2 separate regions of the Homo sapiens genome follow, and region 1 is linked to region 2. The links are contacts of gene promoters, found by promoter capture Hi-C in human tissues and cell types (Jung and others, 2019). All regions are on one chromosome and are shown on one strand. The core of a region is centred on a gene start or on the middle of the fragment in contact, and the rest is flanking DNA. Distances in the headings are between cores, read along the strand shown.

What was found. The method cuts DNA at HindIII sites, captures the fragments that hold promoters and counts their contacts. A contact is called where the count stands out against the background at its distance.
Region 1: a fragment that was not itself captured here is called in contact with the fragment with the promoter of RNF186 in region 2 in 2 of the 25 tissues and cell types used here (mesenchymal stem cells and pancreas).

The regions. Positions count from the first base shown.
Region 1 is chr1:19,884,796-19,891,325 of GRCh38, forward strand. OTUD3 (OTU deubiquitinase 3) reads left to right here. Exons shown (of 8, transcript NM_015207.2): 2 at 5,590-5,738. LOC105376823 (a long non-coding RNA gene) reads right to left here and starts at 4,369. Exons shown (of 3, transcript XR_947028.3): 1 at 4,329-4,369. The HindIII fragment of the contact is 5,133 bases long and covers 1,404-6,530 here.
Region 2 is chr1:19,814,033-19,820,451 of GRCh38, forward strand. RNF186 (ring finger protein 186) reads right to left here and starts at 1,251. Exons shown (of 1, transcript NM_019062.2): 1 at 1-1,251. The coding sequence starts at 1,069. The coding sequence ends at 386. RNF186-AS1 (RNF186 antisense RNA 1) reads left to right here and starts at 377. Exons shown (of 2, transcript NR_186008.1): 1 at 377-521; 2 at 5,211-5,470. RefSeq lists an enhancer at 2,712-3,243. The HindIII fragment of the contact is 3,016 bases long and covers 454-3,469 here.

The DNA.
Region 1 (6,530 bases), core at 2,720-5,219, 73 kb after region 2:
TTCCCACATCTCCGGTCCCTTGAGTCACACTTTGAGAACAGATGATACAAATAATTAAAATATAGTTTGATATATTTTTAGTAACAGTGACTGATTATAATGGTACTATTGAGAAGGAAAAGGCTACTACTCTATGAATTGGCCAGGAAGTCCTTCTCGTTCATTCGGTAAATACTCATTGGATACACTGCTAGATGCCTCTCAGAGGGTGTCATGCTCTGATTGGGTCATGAAGGACCAATAGGAGTACACCAAGAGAACGGTCCCATCTGAGAAGGAGTATATATAGAGGCACAAGGACACGATGTTTTTGGGAGATCTACAGGTTGTTTAGGGTGACGGGTAGTGTAGGGCACAAGGGTAGAAGTAACGGGCAGTGAAGCTAGGCTCCAGAAACCAGCTTGACTGGAGTGCTCATGTCTCTCTTCCAAGGTTCCTGTTATTCGGACAGTGTTAGATAAAATGATCGTATTTCCTCTTGTGTGGGCTTCATGGAGCTAACCACCTTCTGTTCACAAGTTCTTCACATGAGTTCCATTAGCTGGACTGTGGTTCAGCCCTCGTCAGTATCCTAGTCCTTTCGAATGTGGTGATGACAGACTTTATCACTGCAGGGGATGGTGTTTCCTGTGTATGTGATGGGTTGGCAGGTGTCAACAGATTCTTCTACCCCCCTCAGACGGAGTCTTACTCTGCCACCCAGGCTGGAGTGCAGTGGCACAATCTTGGCTCACTGCAATCTCTGCCTCCTGGGTTCAAACAATTCTCTTGCCTCAGCCTCCTGAGTAGCTGGGATTACAGGCACCTGCTACCACAGCCAGCTAATTTGTTTGTATTTTTAGTAGAGATGGGGTTTCACCATGTTGGCCAGGCTGGTCTCGAACTCCTGACCTCATGATCCATCCGCCTTGGCCTCCCAAAGTGGTGGAATTACAGGTGTGAGCCACCGCGCCTGGACAACGGATTCTTTTATTAATGTTTATTAAGGACTCAGGTGAAATATAATGAAGTTAAAGACTATTAAAAAATAGTTGACATCTCTAGCGTTCCCTGTTTTCATTCAGATTTGATTACAATCTGGAGTAGCCTGATACAGTATCTATGAGCATGTTCATTGTTGGCAATATGGTACCTGTAGCATTCTGGAACCTGAGGGGGTTTAGGGATGAATTAACCAATATCCTGTAATACAGCCTTTACATGGGTTGAGTCAGCTTAGTGTAGATTAATCAGGGAGCTACTTAGAGGGTTTTGTAATGCTTCCTGGACCAGCTTCATATTTCACGTGTTGTCTGGAAGGTGGACCCACATAAATTGGATTCATTTTTCAAAGCAAGAAAGAAATAGTTTAACCTTGATGTTTTCCTTAAAAACATGATTGGCTATAGTGTGAAAAGAATGTATAACTCTATTTATTAGGCAGTACAATATTAACATCCCTCTGAACTTATCTAGTTGGGTCTTACTAAATGTAGTTCTGAGTTACATTACTCATTAGCAGTGTTCTAAAATTGAAACATTGAAGAATCACTAATTTTAGCTGTTTATCTTATTACTAACAAGTAGTTTATTTTTTAGTTTTGTTTTTAATATTGCAGGATCACAGTAGTAGAAGGGCATTCACACATCATCTTGTCTAATTATTGCCTGTGTCACCTGAACAGCAGTGCCATCTTTTGTGCCTCACTCAGTGGTTTTCAGTTGGGTGCCATACTAGAATATCTGGGGAGGAACTTTTGAAACAATTCAGGGCCTGGGCTCTCCCCTAGATCAACTACATCAGAATCTTAGAGTGGGGCCTGGTTATTGATGTTTTTTAAAAAAAAATTTACAGATGATTCTTATATGCATCCATAATTGAGAGTGACTGATTTAGAGTCTAGATGCTCAACTAGTGTTTCTCAAACTTCAGTATGCAACATAACCACCTGGACTGCTAGTGAAAACACCTGGAAGGGCTACGTTGCTGGGCCCCAACCCCAGAATGCCTGATTGAGTAGGCCTGGGTGGGCCCCAGCATTTTCATTTCTAACAACTGCCCAGGGGATGCTGATGCTCCTAGTCCGGGAACACACTTTGAGAATCAGTGATCTAGATCAGCGCTGTCCAGGGGAAATAGAATGTGAACCACGTATGTGATTTAAAATTTTTCTAGTAACTACATTAAAAAGAAACAGGTGAAACTAATTTTAGTATATTTTATTTAAGCTATTGTATCTAAAATACTATTTTGACATACAATTCAATATAAAAATTATTGATCTCTCATATTTTCTTTTTCTTTTTCTTTTTTTTTTTTTTTTGGAGACATTAGAGTTTGTTGTTGTTGCCCAGGCTGGAGTGCAATGGCACGATCTTGGCTCACTGGAACCTCTGCCTCCCAGGTTCAAGCGATTCTCCTGCCTCGGCCTCCTGTGTAGCTGGGATTACAGGCATGCGCCACCATACCTGGCTAATTTTGTATTTTTAGTAGAGACGGGGTATCTCCGTGTTGGTCAGGCTGGTTTCAAACTGCTGACCTCAGGTGATCCGCCTGCCTTGGCTTCCCAAAGTGCTGGGATTACAGGCATGAGCCACCGCACCCGGCTGATGATCTCTCATATTTTCTTATATGACCGCTTCAGAATCTAGTATTTTACACTGATAGCACACCTCACTGTGGATTAGCCACATCAGATGCTCAGTAGTCACATGCGGTTAGCAACCACTATTAAACAACACACATCTAGACAATTGCTGTGAATTGCTAGTTATAGAAATTGGCAGAATCCTGAGTCTATATAGTCTACCTCCGTAGAGCTAAGGTGAAATTACCTTTTATTTGCCAAAATCTATGTCTCTGTGGCTTCCAGGTTTTCGTTTTATTATACAGGTATAATTTTAATTTCACATGACAGTTGGAGGTATTGATCACGTCCCCCTGAGCCTTCTTTAGGCCAAACATCACTAGTAGTTCTTCATATTGTATTAAAGCCACATCATTTATCTGAATACGTCTCTCTTAAAATACAGTAACTAGAATGGTACCCAGTACCCTATCTGGTCTGACCCCAAATAATAAAACCTTTTCCTTTTTCTGCACATTTACTATTATTACTGCAGTCTAGAGAGCACGTTAGGTTTTTTGGTGCGTGTGTTGCAATATTGTCTAATAGTAAATTATTGCGCACTCAAAACATTTGCGTGCTCTTTATGTAATTGGTTGTTTTTGTGAACTCAAATGCGAGACCTGCCATATATCCCTATAACACAGTGGTTCTCAAGCAGGGATGATTTTGCCCTCCAGGGGACATTTGGCAATGTCTAGAGACATCTTTGGTTGTCACAACTGATGGGGAGGGAGGTAGTGATGTGCTACTGACAGCTAATGGCAGAGGCCAAGTATTCTCCTAAACTTCCTACAGTGCACAGGACAGCCTCCCACAACAAAAAAATGATCCTGGAATGTCAATAATGTGGAGATTGAGAAGCCCTGCTATAGGTAATGGTGAGAGTGTGAACTCAGGAAGTGGCCCAGATCTCCTAGAGGCCCTTTGGGCAGCGGTGCTTTGTTCTCATGAGTTTCTTGAGTGCTCTTATTGGGCTCACCTAAGGAAACCCAGGTCACTGGAGTGTTTGTTCATTACCTTGTAATCCTGTCAGAAAAGGAAGTGATTTGTCTATTTTGGCTTGTTTTGGGTGAGCTCAAAGAAAGTTTGGTAAGTAATGAAAAGCATATTAAAAAATGTAACAATTAAAACTCTTAAATATTATTTTTAATTCTGCTGCCTAGGGGTAACTATGGCTATCATTTTGGTGTTGACATTCGAGCGAGAGCCACGTTATTTGGACTTGGATCCTGGGCCTACCACTTACTAGTTTTGTGACCTTGGGCAGGTTTCCCCTGAGGGATGGTAATAGGACCTATCTCAGAGTTGTGAGACACAACATGTTTAATACATATAAAGTGTTTAGGACAGTCCCTGGCACATTGTAAGAACTATTTAAGTGGTTGTTTCTGTGTGTTTTCTTGGCATACGTTTGTGTGTGTTTCTGTGTCTGTGTATGTGTATAGTGTACAGATGAACTTGGTTGAGTTCATGTGGCATATACAGTTCTACACCTACTTTTTTGGAGAACATTTGCTCATGTTATTAAAAGTTCCTAGCAAACATGTAACTGTAGAATACCATGAATTTTGGTACATTAAATGTAAAATAACTACATAAATTTGTGATAAATCACATCTCTTAAACTAAATTCAAGAATAGGCTAGTGGTGGCAGATGCTGATTAAGAAAAGTTTGAGGGAAAAGCTTGACATTTAAATTGTTTTATCGATTAACTTACTTTTCTCCATGGTTGAAAAAAGACTGCCATTGTCAGATTTTAGCAAGACACCTCAGTCTAGCCTACAGAACTCTATATTCCACTCCTTCTAGAATCTTGTCTTAGATTGTTGGAAAGCTTCTTGGTTTTTAATTTATAGAAGCTGTCTTAATTCTCCCCTCCCCTGCAAAAAAAAAAAAAGTATATATTCTTATACATTAGAAGAGATTCCAGCCTTTCTATAGCTTTCTGTTGAAAATTCACTTTTCTGAGTTGAAAAACAAAACCCCCTTTTTTCCTACACATTTAGACATGAAATCTTTCTGAAAGTGATGAGTTTATACTTTGGAATTACAGTATCATAGTTTTTCATTTGGAAGAGTAAACAGTTGGGTGTAAAACTGGACAACTGTTTGGCTTCAGAATTGTTTATTTCTGTAGTTTTAAGGATACCAGATTGTGTTTGTCTTGTTTGAGTCTCTGTGTATCTAAGCCTCTGTGTTTGTGATAGTTCGGAATTTAGAAGCCTTTGAGGGGTTTGAAAGTAAAGATAACTCTTACAGTTTATTACCAGTATTTTAATTTTAGAGAAACAAAATGTGGTGTTTAAAGTTTTCATTTGGCAGGAATAACAATGGCATTGTTGCTCCCTGGGTGCTAAGTGAGGAGGCAAGGAGGAAGTGTCTTTCCATAGTACAACTGTTTGTTGTCCAAGTGCTTTCCTTCTCATGACTTTCTCCACTATGTTCTTAGGACTCAAACAGAGTATTGTTCAGTTGTTAGTATTGGCAGCTTGACAAATTGCTATTTTTTGGGTACTATTTGTTAAATGAATGATTACTTAGCTGGGTAGCTGTAGTGGAACTTGTTTTAGAAAAGAGGCTGTAGATAGGACATGATTTTGGAAGAGGATCTGTAAATCATAGCCCTTAGGCATGGAATGGCCTATAAGGTCTGGACCTTGTAGTAAGGTGGTTAGTGTATCACCGGCTCCACTTGTTGAAGCAGCTGAGGCCCAGGGAAGTTTGATGACTCTCCTGAGTCAGCCAGCTGGTACATGGGGAATAGAATCCTTGTTTGCTGCCTCTCAAGAAGGTAATATGGTTGAATATGCCCTCATGCTGTCCCCCGTGGTCTTGGAAGAATCCTGGACTATTAGAGTTGAGTCTTTACCTCTGTGTGCACAAAATATTTCCATGGATGATCTGGCATGAAGCATCATTGTTTTAGACGAACTAAGTTCATTTTTGAAAGGTCTTGACTCGTGTTGTTGTTTTGACAGCAATTGCTTGTTCAGAGCTCTTGGTGATCAATTGGAGGGACACTCACGAAATCATCTCAAGCACAGACAGGAGACAGTGGACTACATGATAAAGCAGCGGGAAGATTTTGAACCCTTTGTAGAAGATGACATTCCTTTTGAGAAGCATGGTAGGTTCACTGTGGGACATTGTGTCCTTCAGGAGTAATGCATTGGGTAATTAAGTCCACTGGCATCCTCCCCCCTCCCAGCCAAGGGTTTGGTTATATAAATCACGACATTCATTTATTCAAGAAATATTTGTTTGCCTACTTGGTTATCGGCAGTATGCTAGGTAGTTGGGGATCAGTAGGTTTAGCTGTATATGCCCTTAATAAACATGATGGTATTAATTGACCTGAAAAGCGATTCATGACTTCTTACTCTGTGGGGTGGGAAAAGCAGGCTATAACATAGCTTGTATAGGTTGATCCTATTTTTAAAAGGTATACAGACACAGTAGGAAAAGTCTGGAAAGATACTAACATTTTGTTTGTTAATTCTTAGCTTCACTTATTTTTCAGAAATTACTCATTCTCTTTAAACTTCTATAGAAGGGAGATAATAATAGCATCTATCTCACAGGGTTTTTGGTGAAGATTAAATTAGATAACAAAATTAAAATAAGCCCTTAGTAAGCGTTAGCCATCTGGGGATGATGGGACTATGGTATTTTAAATTATCTTTTATAGACTTTTTCTGACTTTTAGATGATCATGTATTACTTTTAAAATTAGAAAAACCAATAAAATCATGTTAATTTCTCACCCAAACCCCAAACACAATCTGTTTTCTTTGAGGCAAGTCAGTTAGTGATTTTAATTGGTTCCTATTTAATAGGCATAGATCTTATAGAAAATGCATATGAACTTGTAAACTTTAATTTCAACAAATATTTACTGAGGATCTACTGTGCTTGCTGC
Region 2 (6,419 bases), core at 1-2,500:
TTGCAAAAAGAATGGAATTCCAGTTCTATTCTACAATGGCATCAATACTGCAATACTTTCATCAAGTTATATAAAGAAAAACCAAGAACATTGGAATAAGAGGAACAGGAGCTTCCCCCATCTTGTCATGTTCAAGTAGTTTGTGTCTGCTCCCCTAGCCACCAACAGTTTTAGCTATGCTATCCCAAGGGCAAGTGCAAGCCTGTCATCCAAGCGTGTAATTCTTGACCCAGGCTGGCCATCTCGGTTGTGGCTTGCAAGTCCCGCTGGCATGTGATTTCCCAAAGGAGCCAGTCTTAGTCCGTAACCCCTTACCCTGTTCATTGTGGAAGTCCGGGGGCCCAAGGGCAGAAAGGGCTGCAGGGATAGCCTCATCAGAGGGCACTCAGGCAATGGAAGAGATGTGGCTGTGTTTCTGCTCTCTGCAGAAGAGAGTCCTGGAGGAGGGCCAGCAGCTGCCCCGGGTGCTGGGGAGACAGCAGAAGAGGGTGGACATCAGCAGGGCCAGGGCGATGATGAAGGTGAGCACCCATCGTAAGACACCCGGGTAGATGAAGGGCCCGATGAGGATAATGAGCAAGGCCAGCAGGAGTAGGTGCGCGGCCAGGCGCCGGGCTGCCACGTGGTTTGCACTTACTTCATCCTGTCCATCCTCTCCCACCAAGCTGGGGTGTCCTGCTGCCAAGTCAGCAGGATCCACCAGCCCCTGAGGACAGAGCGATACCTCTGTGCATGGCTGGGCCAGCTGCCCCACCACCGCCTCATGGTCGCGCAGGCTGCAGATGAGGCCCCCGGGGACGGCGGTGACCTTGCGGCACAGCGGGCAGGTGATGGACCAGGTGTTGTCCTGCACGCACAGCAGGAGCTTCAGGCAGATGGCGCAGAAGGCATGCTGGCAGGCCAGCAGCTTGGGCAACCGGGGACAGCTGTAGGGCTCCCGGCACACCAGACACTCCAGGTCACATTCTGTGGAGCCAGAATGACCCCCAGCAGGGGCCACAGCGGTGGTGGTTGTGGTGGCTCCTGCGGAGATGGGCTGGGACTGTTGCAGGGTCTTGGTGCAGGCCATTCTGGGCACAGGGACCGGTGGGACACTGTCGCTCAGCACCTGGGCATTGGCAGAGAGTGTCAGCTGGCGCCGCTGGGACTTGGATGGAATCTGCCCCTCCTTTTCACTCTGGCCAGGTGCCTGTTGACAACAGCTGTCTGACACTCCTCTCTCCCAGAGCTGCCCAGCTTGTTTCTTGGCTTACGTCGTCCCTTCAGTTATTATTATTTATTTTCTCAAAACCTAGGGTTAATCAGTAACTTGCGGGTCTGGAGACTTTGAATTGCCTGATAGGAGGGCAAAGTGGGCAAGGGTCTAGTGAATCAGGACTTTCCTGTTGGGGCCAGGTACCTGGTGGGTGCCCACAGAACTGTGGCTCAAGCTTTAGGAGGCAGCAGAATCCAACTCTCTCACCCCCACTTCCCAGGTCCCTGAACCTTTTATTAATTTTTTTTATTTAACTTTTTTTTTTTTTTTTGAGACGGAGTCTCGTTCTCTCAGGTTGGAGTGCAGTGGCCCGATCTTGGCTCACTGGCATCTACAAATCTGCACAATAAACAGACAGCCCTATGAGTCGGACATAGGTGGATTGGTGGACACTGCTTTCTCAGACACAAACTTTTGGATGTCAGGATGAGTGGAAAAAAGTTTGTTTGCACTTGGAGCACATTTACAGGCAGGTGGCCTTGGAAAGAGGAGGGGAGAGGTAAGAAAAGTGAGTGGAAGGAGGACAAAGCCCAACCCAACGCAGAAAAACAAAACCACATACAGCGCACAGGTGTTTGGCACCTGCTACTGTATTCATTTCCTTAGAGCCACAGCTGTTGTATTCACAGTTACGGGTGTATGAACTTCCCATCGGTGCCCTGCTGCACACTTCACATGCCTAATCACAGGTGTCCTGTTTTGTGCTAGGCATGCTGCGTATCCAGTAGTACTAAGAACAGCTGCCATTTATTTGGGCCTACTCTAAGCCAAGCCCTGTGCCCGGGGTCCCCAGCCCCCATTTCCCGGAACCCTGATACAGCCTTGTAGGGAAGGCTGGGAAACAAGGGCAGGGTGTGGTCAGGGTAGGCTGCTGGCTGCCTGCCAAGGGGCCTTCCATGGAGCAGGACCTTGTGGAATCTACCAGCGTCCAAGGTCTGGTTGAATCAATTTCATTGGTTCATTTGGACACAACTGGCCCCAGCCGGGTGGCGTAGGCTAAGAGGACTCATGTGAGACAGGCAGATATTAGTAACACAGCAGTTAGGAAAACGTGATTTCCTTACTTTGCCCTCAAGGGCAAATGGCGGGGTGGCATGTGCACTCCCTCAAACAAATGTTTCATTCAGGCCACTCTGAACTCAGAAGCCCGTGTGAAGGATCCTTTGGTGCTCATGTCACCTGCCAAGGGCCACACAGAGTCCTGTGCCTCTGATTCAGCTCTTTCCCTTACCCCAGTAGCTGGCACTGCAGGCCACCCTCTGTGTCCTGGAGTCACCAGCCCCAAAGGGGCTCCCTCCCTTGTGGGATCGGTAACTCCCACCTCCCCACTCCCCCTGGGCCCTCTATCTCTGAAATCCAATACTCTCACCATCCCATCCCATTTCTTCTCAACCTGTAGCTAGACCATCAGTTACCTCTGTGAAAGGAAAATAAATCGTGGGGCCCCAAAATCACTAAGCCACAAGGGAAAGTCAAGCTGGAAACTGCTTAGGGCCAGCCTGCCTCCCATTCTATTCAAAGTCACCTCTCTGCTCACTGAGACAAATGCATATCTGATTGCCTCCTTTGGAGATGCTAATCAGAAACTCAAAAGAATGTAACCATTCTTATCCACCTGTGACCTGGAAGCCCCTTCCCCACTTCAGGTCTTCCTGCCTTTGCTTCAAGTTGCTCCACCTTTTCAGATGGAACCAATGTTCATTTTACATATGTTGATTGATGTCTCATGTCCCTCTAAAACGTATAAAACCAAGCTGTGCTCTGTCCACCTTGGGCACATGTCATCAGGACCTCCTGAGGCTGTGTCACGGACATGTGTCCTCAACCTTGGCAAAATAAACTTTCTAAATTAACTGAGACCTGTCTCAGATACTAAGGTATAGATACACATCTATATCACGTTTTCCCCCAGATCAAGCTGAAGGTGGCCTTGGATCTAGGCATGTTTTTTCCCCCATGCCTAGCATTCTTTCCCCTTTTTTGGGTAACAGTTCTCTGTTTTCACTTTGGGCAACCACTGCTTCCCACCGTCATTCTGTGCTCACGGAGAGGGTGATGTCTGGCTCCAGCTCTCTGGAAGTGGGGCCCTGATACAATTCAGGACAGGCCAGTTAGCATGCTCTGCTCTGCTAGCTGCAGCCATTGGTTTGAGCGTAGGCATATAATCGAAGCCAAGCCAATGAGATTCAATTCTGAGACTTCTGTTGGAGCCCTTGAGAAGTTTCTCTTTGTGCTGGGTTTCTAAGTTAGAGGATGGAACCCTGGGGCTGCCAGGACCACAGTGTGCAGAGAACCTGCTCAAGAGTAAGGTCAGCACAAAAGAAAAATGAGAAAAGAATCAGACAAAGGCCTGATGATGTTATTTGAACACCTGAAGCAGGACACCTAGCATTGGATTTTTTCAAGGATATTAACCTATAAAATCTACCCTGATTTTTATTCTTAAGTCAGTTCAAATTGAACTTCTGTCCCTTGCAAGTGAAAGACCTCTATGTAACACAGCAATGGATGAAGAAAAGAAGCCTTTACTTGCTCTCTGACAAAGGGTCAGGCATTGATGAGACAACCAGACTTTGTACACGGACAAGAGTGACCGAATGCCTGTGTGTTACCATGCTAGAAGAGATTCTGTGTTTTCTCTGCTTGGACTTGCATTGCATAATGTTATTTTCTGTTTGTGAGACCCTAGGATGGATTAGGGATGAGAGGAGAAAAATGTGTTGAGCCACATTCATTTATAATAAGAATAGAAAATCAGGTGGGCCACACAGTGATGTTGGCTTGGCCAGTGTCCCTCTCACTTTTTTTTGAGATAGAGTCTCGCTCTGTCTTGCCCAGGCTGGAGTGCGACCTCTGCCTCCCGGGCTCAAGCGATTCTCTTGTCTCAGCCTCCTGAGTAGCTGGGACTACAGGCGTGTGCCACCACACCCGGCTAATATTGTATTTTTAGTGGAGATGGGCTTTCACTATGTTGGCCAGATCGGTCTCAAACTCCTGACCTCAGGTGATTCACCTGCCTCAGCCTCCCAAAATGCTAGGATTACAGGCATGAGCCGCTTCACCCAGCCGGCCAGTGCCTCTCTCTCTAGCCAGCTTAATGGGAAATCAAATTGTCAGAAGGTAGCTGAGTGAGGTTGAAATCAGACCAAGGGAAGTTATTTGGGGTTAGAGCCTAAAAAATAACCTTTTAACATCATTGGGCAACCACCGTTAAGAAAACATATTGGCTGGAACAACCCAAGTATTACAGAAATAAAGTAGAATGTGAAAGTTCATCTTACTGCAACCCCTGAGAAATGACCACTGTTAACAGAGCATTCCTTCCTGTTGTCCTCCTCCTACCATCTTGGCTTAGGAACAACTTTGTTTCTCAAAAGTGCCTTGCCTTAACTATCACCAGCACTGACTATAGCTGGAAATCTGGCTCCTGTCACTTTACCAGCTATGTGACCTTGGGCAAGAATTTTAACTTCACTGCAGTTCAGTTTTAAAATTTGATAAAATGGAGGCCGGGCACAGTGACTCAAGCCTGTAATCCCAGCACTTTGGGAAGCAGAGGTGGGTGGATCGCTTGAGCTCAGGAGTTCGAGACCGGCCTGGGCAATGAGGTGCAACCCTATCTCTACTAAAAATACAAAAAATAGCTGGGCCTGGTGGTGCATACCTGTAGCCCCAGCTACTTGGGAGGCCGAGGCAGGAGGATAGCTTGAGCCTGGGAGGTCGCAGTTGCGTGAGCCAAGATCGTGCCACTGCACTCCAGCCTGGGTGACAGAGTGACACTCTGTATTTAAAAAAAAGTAAATAAAATAAAATAAAACAAAATGGAGACGTTAACACTTGAGGAAATTATGGATTATTTAAGCCCTCCACCCCTGACTACAACCTGCTCACAGGAGGCTTAGTAATTTATGTACTTTGGGTTGTAACTGACCTAGGTGAAATTGATCTCTTCCAGGGACATGAGATAAGACACTTTGGTGACTGATTCGGCCAATGCTTCTTGAAGAGGAGTGAATATGGGCAGAGTCTGAGGTGGAGCCTGAAGCAGATCTACCCCAGGGGAATTCAAAAGTGTCTCCGGAGACTTAAAATGTTAAATTCATCTAGGTTTCACATTCTTCTCCATGTTCTATTTGTGCTTACTGCAACATTAGAATCCCGAAGCATGCACGAATCCTTCCAAATCTCCAAATAAAACATATTTGTTTGTTTTAATTGCTGTACAAATATGAACTCATTAATCTTGAGTAAAGCTTTTTTTTCTTTTTTCATTTGAAATGCAGTTTCTTCCATCTTATGGCTTCTCACAGCCCTGGGGTCATACGCACTCCATCGTGAGAAACACAGTCTCATGTTGGGGTGAAATTTCAAGCCTAGCTGCAGGCTGGGGAGCCGGAGCCAGTCCAGTTGAGGAAGATCATGTTGGAAATCACATGTGCAAGGAACCACACACCCATGTACCTTTGCAAAAACATGTCTGATCTGAATTTTAGGCCTCCCGTCAAGTCAGAAAGGAGTCAGGTGGCAGCACTGTTCTGAGATCAAACTGTCCACTCATCTTTGGCCTCTGTCCTGATCAGCTGACCCTCACCCCACACTCCAGTGAACACAGGGAGCCAGGTCCCAGCCAAACGCCGAGTTGCTCTCCACTCCTCCTTGCCTTGGGCTGAATGGAAACCATCTCAGCTCACACTCTTGTCCCAGAATTCTCGCCTCTGTGCTCCTTAGAGCATGGCAGGCTCCATCCCTATTTTCAGCCCCCCACCCCCACCCCCACCCCTCACCAAGAATCTGCGTGTCTGAGGATAGATTGCCAAGGAGACAGAAGAAAGGGATCTGGAACCAAAATAACAATAATGAGAAAATTATGACTGTATAGAGAGAAAGACAATGTAACAGAGATAGTGAATGCCTCGGGCACAAACTGCAGGAAGTTGGAAAACTACACTGTCTTTTTTTTTTTTTTTTTTGAGATGGAGGGCACTCACTGGGCTAGAGCTCTGAACTCACCACCGACAGGCAGTCAGTGGCCAAGTCGCTTAACCTCTCTAGGCCTCAGTTCTCTCCGTCTGTGAAATGGACACCTGCCCTGTCTCCTTACTGAGGAGCCAATGAAATGACAGAGGCTTGTGAATGGGGCAGGGGGGCCATTACTACTACTGAC